Regions from separate parts of the Homo sapiens genome. Here region 2 is linked to region 1. The links are contacts of gene promoters, found by promoter capture Hi-C in blood cells and fetal thymus (Javierre and others, 2016). All regions are on one chromosome and are shown on one strand. Each heading gives the region's core, a stretch centred on a gene start or on the middle of the fragment in contact. The rest is flanking DNA. Distances are from core to core; before and after follow the strand shown.

The links. The method cuts DNA at HindIII sites, captures the fragments that hold promoters and counts their contacts. A CHiCAGO score of 5 or more calls a contact.
Region 2: a contact is called between a fragment that was not itself captured here and the fragment with the promoter of LRP3 in region 1, in 5 of 17 cell types (M0 macrophages, monocytes, megakaryocytes and 2 more). The highest score is 7.3, in M0 macrophages.

The regions. Positions count from the first base shown.
Region 1 is chr19:33,191,765-33,196,710 of GRCh38, forward strand. LRP3 (LDL receptor related protein 3) reads left to right here and starts at 2,566. Exons shown (of 7, transcript NM_002333.4): 1 at 2,566-3,094. The coding sequence starts at 3,022. The HindIII fragment of the contact is 39,491 bases long and covers 213-4,946 here.
Region 2 is chr19:33,404,237-33,409,182 of GRCh38, forward strand. All of the region lies in intron 11 of PEPD (peptidase D), which reads right to left. LOC124904692 (a long non-coding RNA gene) reads left to right here. Exons shown (of 2, transcript XR_007067229.1): 2 at 53-4,729. Among named protein-coding and RNA genes, the nearest start is that of CEBPG, 33 kb to the left of the region's middle. RefSeq lists an enhancer at 2,464-3,021. The HindIII fragment of the contact is 2,493 bases long and covers 630-3,122 here.

The sequences.
Region 1 (4,946 bases), core at 1,316-3,815:
TTCCTGAAGGCGTCACTGGCCCACAGTGACTGTGACAGCAGCTTTGCTTCCTCCTAACTGGGAAGGCCAGCTTCTTGCCAGGAAGCCCCTGCTCTCATGTCTGAGCCCTCTGCCCCACCACTGCTCCCTCACCTGCCCCAGCCAGTCAGTTCCCATATTCTGGGTCCATGCCCACCATCTCCTTCCCAGTACTGAATTCTCCAATGGTTAGAAGCTTTTGGGTTGTGATGAATAGACACGTTCTGGATATAGCTTGAGTCAATGAGGGAGGTTTACGAAAAGGTTTCAGAGGTGGAGAGACCCAGGCGATTGCAGCTAGCGTGGAAGAGTGTTGAAGCAGAGACAGGAATACCAGGAACCTTTCCAGATGTGGTGAGAGGGCGGTGGGGGAGAGGACTGGGCCAGAGCTGCATTGGGGACCCCCAGCAAGGGTCTTGCCTGGCACAGCAACCTCTAGGGGGCACTAGACCATCATGAGACAAACGGGAAATGGGGTGTCAGTTATGGGCCGGGGTCTCAATATGGGCCGGGAGTAGGATAGGGCAGTGAGGCACTCACCTTGGGCACAGAATTGAAGGAAGTGCCAAAAAACTCAATAATGAAGATAAATCAACTTTAATGCAAATTTTTTGTGTGTGTGCAATGGGGACAGTTGTTTCCAATCAGCCCAAGGTTCCTGGGTACCTTGGCCGTTTCTTGCCTTATGGGTTTATGAGGGTTCACAATGGGATGTGCATAGATTGGGGAGCATGGAGATTTAGATATAGTCATGTGATTGTAGAGCTTTTCTTAGCCTTTCCACTTGGTTCAAAATATGGGAGGATATTTTGATAAGTGTGTCTAGGGGCTCACATTTTTCTTTTGCTTCAGGCTCCAACATGATTCCCATATTGGTCATTGGTCTGGACCCTAGATTCCTTACATAACGTGCAAAACATGCATTGAAGCAGGCAGCATCTTCAACAAAACCGCATATTTTGGCCAGGTGTGGTGGGTCCTGTCTGTAACTCCAGCACTTTGGGAGGCTGAGGCAAGAGGATCCCTTGAGTCCAGGAGTTTGAGGTTGCAGTGAGCCGTGATCACACCACTGCACTCCAGCCTGGGCAACAGAGCAAGACCTTGTCTCTACAAAAAAATGAAAAAATTAGCCTGACATGGTGGTGCACACCTGTCATCCCACCTACTTGGGAGGCTGAGGTGGGAGGATTGCTTGAGCCCAGGAGTTTGAGGGTACAGTGAGCTATGGTTGCAGCTCTGCACTCTAGCCTGGGTGAAAAAGTGAGACTGTCTCTAAAAAAACTAAGAAGCAGCAGCAGCAGCAGCAACAACAACAACAACAACAACAAACGAACAAACCGCAGATCCACCCTACCATTGCCCCTGCCTCTGTTGAGCATTTTTGCCATGCGTAAATAAATGCCTGCTCATCCGCAGTCAGCAGTCTGAGGAAATTCTGAAACCAAATTACACATAGGCTAGTGCTCTATGCCATCAATCTGTAATGTATCTTGTTATTTGATTTTTACGTCCTTTAATACATTTCCTAAGAAGTCTGCTTTGGAAAAATCACCAAAGGAATTAGAAGAGAGAGAATAAGAAAACCCAGAAAAACTAAAAGGATTTTTCTTCCCCCCATTTTTTATTAAAATCCAATCAACCTGCACAGTGCGAGTGAGTGAGTGACTGTCTACGCTTTCACTAACGGACCATCAGTTTCTCTCAACCTTCTCTCCATAAACGGAGAATATCAAATGAGGGTCTGGGGGTGTTAGAAAAGGGTTGGGAGCCTCAGCTCAGGTTGGTGGGCCCGCTGTGCCATGGAGCCTTTGGGGACCTCTGATTTCACATCCGTCTTGGCCCTAAATGGCCTTCTCAAACCTTCCCCCTGTCTCTCCTGGTTCTTGCCTCATTGGACTCAACCTCTTGGTGGGCAGCTCTCCAGAGGGCACCCCCAGCCTAAGAAGCAGGCCTCCTCCCAAGTCCCCAGCCTCACGAGGATAGTGGGTAACAGGGTGGGCTCAGGGGGCCCTGGGAGATCTCCAGAGGCCTCTGGTGTGTTCACCAATGTCCCCTGACAGGTCTTGCTTGGCACAGGGGGTTCCTCTTAGAGACGTGACAGGGCACTTGGACTGTGGCAAATGAAAGAAGCGGAGGGGCAGGAACAGGGACACCTTGCGAAGAAGACAGGCCTTAGCCTTGTGCCACCCCTATGAGGTCCCTAAGCCGTCCTCTCTCTCCCACCTTTTCCCAGTCCTCGCTCCCCGGTCCTCCTCAGCACAGCCGGCTCCAGGAGGGATCAATTCGTGGGCCCGGGAGGAGGCCAGGCGAGCACCGGCTGCCTGGAGCACTGGGCTGGAGCGCGGGGAGCGCGGCGGGGGGCGCGGGCGGGGCGGGGCTGGTGCGCAGAGCTGTCCAGCACCCCGAGGCGGGGCGTGCGCCCCCGGCCCGCCCCAGCCGCCTCCGCCCGCCCAGCCAGCGCCACTGCGGCTCGGCGGGCGCGTCACGTGGCTGGCGCAGCGCGGCCTCCAGGCTCCGGGCGCGGGCGAGGGGCCGGGCGGGAGGACTGACAGACCCACGGACGCTCTACCGGCGGCACCCGGCCGGGCGGGCTGGGCGCAGCGCGGGGCGGCCCGGGGACGCCGGGGCCGGGCGGGCTGCGCGCCGCGGGGCATGGGCGCGCCGGGGGTCCCCGGGCCCAGGCCGGCCGCGGCGGGGCTCCCGGGGCGCGGGGGCAGCGGCGGGCGGGGGTCTTCCCTGGCGGCCGCCGCTGAGCCCCCGCAGGGCCCGTGACGCCGCGGCCGATGTGGCCGCGCGCGCCCTACGGGCCTGCACCGCCACCGCACAAAGACGCCTCGGGAGCCGCCGCCTGCACCCGGGCCGCAGCAGCCACGCCAGCCGGAGCCCGAGCCCTAGCCCGAGCCCGAGCCCGAGCCGCAGCCAGAGCCAGAGCCGGAGCCGCAGCCGGAACCGGAGCCGGAGCCGCGGGGCAGGAGGCGGCGCCCGCGGGCGGCCGGGCCCGGCATGGAGAAGCGCGCGGCCGCGGGGCTGGAGGGCGCGCCGGGCGCCCGGGCGCAGCTGGCCGTCGTCTGTCTGGGTGAGTGGGCCGCGCGGGCCGGGCAGGTCCGGGTCCCCCGCATGGCAGTCCGCGCCGCGCCCTGACCGACCTCCTCTCCGGCCGCGGCATCCCGAGCCCCCCACCGCGGTGGCTCCCGCGCGGAGACCCAGAGAGGGGCCAGCACCGCTTGCCCGCCTGGCCCCGGGCCTGGGAGGGCGACTCTGGTGGCGCAGCCCCGGCTCCCGCCCCGCTCGGAGTAGCGCCCGGAGCCCGGGCTGAGCGCTGGCAGGAGGCCCTTCGTGCAGGCGGCAGCCTTCAACCCGGCCCGCCCGCGCTGAGCCTGGAGACGAGGGGGCCCCGGGAGCTGGGGACAAAGGCCAGGCCGGCTGTCCCCTGAAGAAGAAACTGTTTCCGGCCCGGAGTTGGGGTGGGGGCTGGTGTAAGCCGCAGATGGGGACTCGGGGTGCGGGGCAGGGCTGGAGGAGGGTGCCAGTGTGGAGGCGGCTTCCAGGGGACTCCTGTTTTCCCTTTGTGTCTCTCAGCCCCCAGGCAGGCCTGTTCAGTTTAGGAGGGTGCTTGGGTTGGGCCAGGGACCGGTCAAGGCCAGGCATGGGGTGGGAGGGGCTCCCGCCCTGTCCGGGAGTTTTTCTGTCCAGCTTTCCAGCGCTCTGTGTAGGCGAGAGGAGGAGTTAAATCCCCAACCCACATGGCTCCTTTATTTACTGTGATGAAGGAGGGAGGCCATTATAAGAACTGGGGGTCATTAGGGGACACCCTGTGATGTCACCAGTGAGGGCTCTGTAACCTGACAGGTTTGCTGAAGCCACTGAAATGACAAAGTAATCACCCCCAGGCCTCAGGGAGCTCCGAGGCTCTGGCAGGCCCTTGCCCCAGCTGTGTGAGCCTGGCTCAGTGGGAATGTGCCATTGGGGAGCATTGAGGGTGTAACCCCAGCGCGCCCACCCCAACCTCAGTGCGGGGTCATGTGTGCTGGGCTCTGAGCTGCTGGGTGCTGGCATCCCTGGTGAGCAGAGCAGGGGGACAGGCGCTCCATGCTTAGGAGCTTTGGCCTGGCTCTGTCCAGGGGGCCTGGGTGTCCTGGGTGGGGGCAGCGGTTCCTGCTTCCTGGCCAGGCGGGATCTGACACACATCCTGAACCCCGGGAAGTTGGGTTTCCCCCCACCCCCCGACTCTGGGCCCGTAACCCCCCGGGCCAGAGCAGAAGGTGAAAGTAAGGGCCAAACCCCACGGAGGTGGGTGCTTGAGGGGTGGCTGGGGAGTTCTGCTTTCCTCCTCAAAGTCAGCTTGGCACGGGGGAAGAGGATGGTTCCGTCACTAGCTGCGTGCCCTGTAAATGGGGATTATCAGAACTGCCTCCCCTCCTGCCTCTGCTGCTGCTGGGCGAGCAAAGCCCCTTGGTAGGGGGAAGCCCTTCAAAGTTGTAGGAGCAGGCCAGGGTGCGGTGGCAGGTGCCTGTAATCCCAGCACTTTGGGAGACCAAGGCAAGAGAATTGCTGGAGGCCAGGAGTTTAAGACCAGCCTGAGCAACACAGTGAGACCTCATCTCTACAAAAATAAAAAATAAAAAAATAACCAGGCATAGTGGTGCACACCTGTAGTTCCAGCTACTTGGGAGGCTCAGGTGGGAGGATTGCTTGAGCTCGGGAGTTTGAAGCTGCAGTGAGCTATGCACTCCAGCCTGGATAACAGAACATGGAGGCAGGGAGGTGGGGGTGAGGTGGTAGGGACCCTCTTGATGGGCAGTCTTGGGCTGCGCTCTGGGCCTTGCCCTGTAAGAGGAAGGGGACCAGCGGGCCAGCCTTGGGTTTAGCTGTGGTGTCCCTCATGGGCTGCTGCTGGTCCCCAGCAGGTATGTGGGACCCCTGACCCT
Region 2 (4,946 bases), core at 626-3,125, 210 kb after region 1:
TAGGTTCCCCAGAGTCAACCAAGAAAAATGGTTTGTGGTTTGTTGGTTTTAGAACATGCAAGAATAGCCTGGGCAGAGAGGACAGGGCCAGGAGTATGGGGGACACGGATTCCTAGGAGGCGCCAAATCAGAAGGTGACCTGCAACAGCAGCCGGGGCAGAAAGTCCTACCGGACTGTGCTGACACAAAAGAAAAAGCAGAAACTGAACTATCGTTTAAAAAACAACAACAACAACAACAACCAGGAAGCCCACAAGAATACCCCGAACAATGAAATCATCTAGGAATGTAAAAACAAGACTGTTCTCCAGTGCAGACCAGACTCAGATCCCAGTTCCCCAAACTCCCGCCAGCAAAGCAGAAAGACCATGGGATGGTGGGTGCCTGGATATCATCCGCCAGCCTGACTTTATCTTCCAGCTTGTAGAAGACTGTAACTGCATTTCTTGTTTGAAAATGATCTGCTTTCTGGAGGGGGAAGTATACACCCAGCCAGCCAGCTCCATCCTGCCCAGCGAGGCTCGGGTATGGAGCTGAAGTCTATTTTCGTGCTCCTCTCAGTTCCCTATCTTTTTCTGCCTTAAAAAAATCCCCCTAGAGTTTCTACACACATAAGTTATTCAGATGCAAGCTTTTCTGGAATCCAGGGACGAAAGCCATGGCTTTGATAAATCATCTCCCTCCCGCTCCTCTGCGTCCACTTCATCCATCCTCTGAATGCAAACCGACAATGGAGAATTCGGTCATACGTTGGCTCAATCGAGAACAGGCACGCAGGATCCCTCCTTCCTGGCTGTCTGGGGACCCTACCATCTTTGGCCGAGTGAGTCGATGATAATACAAGACATCTGGGAGACAGGATGCATCTCCAAACAACGTGCTGGCGTCTCACTCCCCACATGTGTTCTGAGGGCTCTGTTTCTGGCTCCTTCTGGGTAGCTTTGGGCCTGGGCTACCTGCCACCACTGGCCCACCCAGACCCTCCCTGGGCCCCATGGCAGGGACCCGCCAGCCCAGAGGCAGAAGGCCTCCAAGATGGGTCGGCCAGTGACGGAAGGCTTGGGAACAGTTTTCTGGGGGAAATGCTGCAATGTTTATATGAGAGCCACTTTGGACTTGGTTTGCAGTTTCATTTGAATCTCCTGAGTAGTGGCACGGCTCTTAGCTGTTCAATCCAACAGTTTACACGCGCTCATATTCGGGGCTGCAGAAGCACTGCAGACTCCGATGTGCAGCTGCCCTGGTCAGTGTCCCAGGCCAGGCTGGGGGATTGCTGAGCAGCAGGAAGCACTTGCTTCTCCTCAGTGTGAGACCGAAAGGGAGGCGTATGGGTCACTCTTCCCTTCATCTGCCCCAGTGGGCGGCCCCTGCAGACACGGTGGCGAGCTGTGGTCTCCAGGGTGCATGGGCCGGCTGCCTGCTCCCAGCCAGGCCTTCCGTGGAGTGCCAAGCTCCAAGCGTGGCCAGCAGGGACAAAGGCCACCACTCGGAGTCCCTGAGGCTCCCCGTGCCATGGCCTAACCCACCAAGGGGACCTCTCTCCAGTGCGTTCCTGGGCATCTCTGCCCCCTTTTCGTGTGACGGCCACTCCTCCAGGGCCTCGGCAGACAGGAAAGCTGCCCATGCCGCCAGCCCATGACAGCAGCAGCTTCTGGTCCCCAGAGCCAGCAATCCCTGGTGCACGCGGTGGGTGACGGGAGCAGCTGCGTCCTGTGGGCCTCCTGGGTGTCTGGAGGGAACTGGCATTGCCATTTTATGCATGACATGGACAGAGGCACGGCACCAGTGAGGGGCCCCGGGTCCCAGAAGAGCACTGTGGGGTGCCTCGTCCAGAGGTGGGTGAGACACAAGGACAGCTGCCAGGAAAGCACAGTGGGGTGAGGCCCGGGCGTCAGGGCAGTGGCCTTGGCAGGCGGGAGGGAGAGTCACACGCGCAGCACATGCTGTATTTTGCTTTTTTTGGTGACCAGTGTCTCATGATGTCTGGGAGCACCCAGGATGTCTGGACAAGTGCTGTTCAAACTGTGGGTCATGACATCAGCTGAGGAGGGTGCAGCCACGAAGCACAAACAAGAGACAAACCGAAAACGCGTGGGCAGGTGTCTGCTCATAACCAGGCCTGTCCATGTGTATGAGGACGGGTGAGAATGGAGAGCACGCTCCTAACTGGGATGGGATGGGACGGCCATGCCTGTGGGTCTGGACCCTCCTGAGGGCGTTCTGTGGCCCCAAGAGCATGTCTTTAAGACCGCAGAGTGCTCAGGGCAGGGCTGGCTGGTGACAACAAGTCTCCCTCGGAGGAAACAGCAAGGTGGTGGGGGAGAGCTGGGCTGGGACAGGCAGCAGAGAGCAGGCCTGGGGGCAACGCTCTACCCTGGAGCTCACCAAAGCATTGGGCCCCAGGTGGAGTGGGGCAAGGGGGTCCCCAGGAGCTTGTCACCCATGGGGTCCGCAGCGCGATGGTGGCAGACAGACTCAGGCTGAGTAGACAGCAGGAGTAGGCTGGCCGCATCCCAGGCTGCAGGGCCCATGTGAGGCCAAGGTGGCTGCTGAGGTCCTGGGTGAGCGGGCACCCCATGGCCTGCAGGGTCGAGGTCTCGCCATTATCTAGCCAGGGAAGGAGGGGAAGAGGGCACTGGTGGCTGCTGAGTGTGAGGGCTGGGACAGGTCTCTCCTCCTAGCCAGGCTGGCCACCCACCCCCCATGCCCAGGAGCAACACAAAAGACCAGGCCCAGCAGGGGTGAGGCCTGGCCCATCGTCCTGAGACAACACTGCCCTCTTCTGGCCAGTTCTGGAAGGACAGGCTTGCTGCCCACCAGCTGCATCCCGACTGGGACAACCAAGGCCTGGGGCATCCTGGGACACGTGCTCTAGAAACTCTGCGAGGGGCCACAGTAGATTAAGGCCCCCCTCCAACCCCCACCACCTGATCGGGAAGTGAGGGAGGCAGGAGGAGTGTCCCAGCTGCTTTCCCAACCAGAGCCCTCCACCTCTGCCCTGTGGGGTGAGCCTCTCCAGGACCTGGGGCGGCCTCAGGCCCGGAGTGCTGCAAGGGATGGTCCCTCTCTGGGCGCACTGCTTCCCAGAATCGTGGACCATGCGCCCCCTGCCCTAGCTGCGAAGCTTGCTGGCCTGCAGTGGCTCTGGTGCCCACAGCCCAGGCTGTTTGTGGAAGGAGGGGGCAGCACATGGGGGCTCAGAAGACGACCAGGAGAAGCAGGGGGATGAGTCCTGGCCACCTCTGTGCTCACACAAACCTGTTCGGGGCTGGAGTGAGTGGGGAGGGGTCTTCTGGGGCCTCCCACTTAGGAATGGCCTCCAGTGATCTCAGGCACCTCAATCTGTGTGAACATGTTGAAAGTGTTAATTAGCAAGTGTGCTGCGCTTTTGTAACCCTGTTCTTGAAGGTCTGCCTGAGGGGTTTAAAAAGGAAAACAAAAAAAGCAGCGAATGGCCCCTCTGGTACAGTGACTTGGAGATGGGGTTCATGGCGAACCCCAGGATCACAGCGGGAAAAGACTCTGAGAACAACAGCAAAACCCCCGGAGGCTTGACGGCTACAGGCCCCACATGGGGCCGCTTGGCTCTGAACCAGGCTGAGGGTGTATGCAGCCACCACAAAGTCCCGTCCCTCACCCCTGCGTGCATGCGAGTGGGTGTGGTGGCATCACACCCAGAGAAGCGGGAAGGGGCCCGGGGGTGGCTGGCTGGGGGTGAGGGACGGCCCTCAGGAAGTCTGTCTCAGTCCTTGGCTGACAAGCCTGACCTGAAGCAGGAACCAGGGTGTCTGGTTCATAGGCCCTCTTGGACCATGACTGTGGCCAACAGTGGACTCAGCCTAGCTCCAGGGAAGCTGCTGGAAGGGTAAGGACGGAGCAGTAGGAGGGGGGCCTAGCCAGCCCCAAACCCCGCTTGATGTACGCATCATGGAGGACACTTTTGGGTCGAAGACACGGAACAGGACAACCAGGGGACGGGAGCTGTCTGAGAATAAACCAGGCCTGGCCTGAGCTCTGCCTGTGGCTCCCACCTCCAGCCTGTGCTGCAGAACCAGCTGCTGGAAGTGGGCATCAGGGCCTGGCCTGCCCAGCTCGGTGAGGACACCGGGCCTGCTGCTCTTGCCCGAAGAGGGCCCACGCTGTGCCAGGTGGCCACTGCGAGAGAGGGAGGCAGGGGCTTACACTGTGATCATTGCAACGCAGCACAGCCTCGGTCAGTTCCCTGTGTGTGTATCCATGTGTGTGCGTGTTGGGGGAGTGCTCATATCTGGGACTGTGGAGAGAGGGATGGAAAAGGCTGGCCTCCTCTTAGTACCCCCCACCCTTCTGCAGTACAGCTGTATAATCTGGCTGCCCTGGACCAGCTCTGATTCCCCACAAAATCCCATTCCTAGAAGCTAAAATATCTCTGGGGTGTCTTCCCCCAGTCAAAGGACTAAAACCCAGAGCAGGCCATTGCAGCAGGCGCACTGCTCTGGGAGGCGCTCGGCTTCGGGGGAATTCTACGCTGGGCTCATGCTTTAGTTTCATACCTTAGGATGAAGCATCGTGGCTTTCATGTTGGGATAACAGACTGATTTATTATTTACCGAACGCAGTAGGCGCTCGGCAGATCAATTTCAATACAACAATGGACTATAAATGCCACCAGCAATCTGGCAGTAGCAGTAATCAACAAAACATGTTGTTCTAAATGCTGCATAATAAATTGACTACAATAAACTCATAATTACTCTACTGGCTACATTTCAAAGTTAGCACTAGAAAAATCAAATCACCAATTTGGACTTGGCATTAACATCCTCGGATCACTCCTGCCTCTACAGCTGCAGCTGGGAGATGCAGGTGCCATGTGCTGTCCCGGAGGGCCGAGGCCACAGCATCTGGGATTATGCCAGGACCCTCTCCGGGGCAGATAAAGAGGGTCATAAAGGAGCAGTCACTTC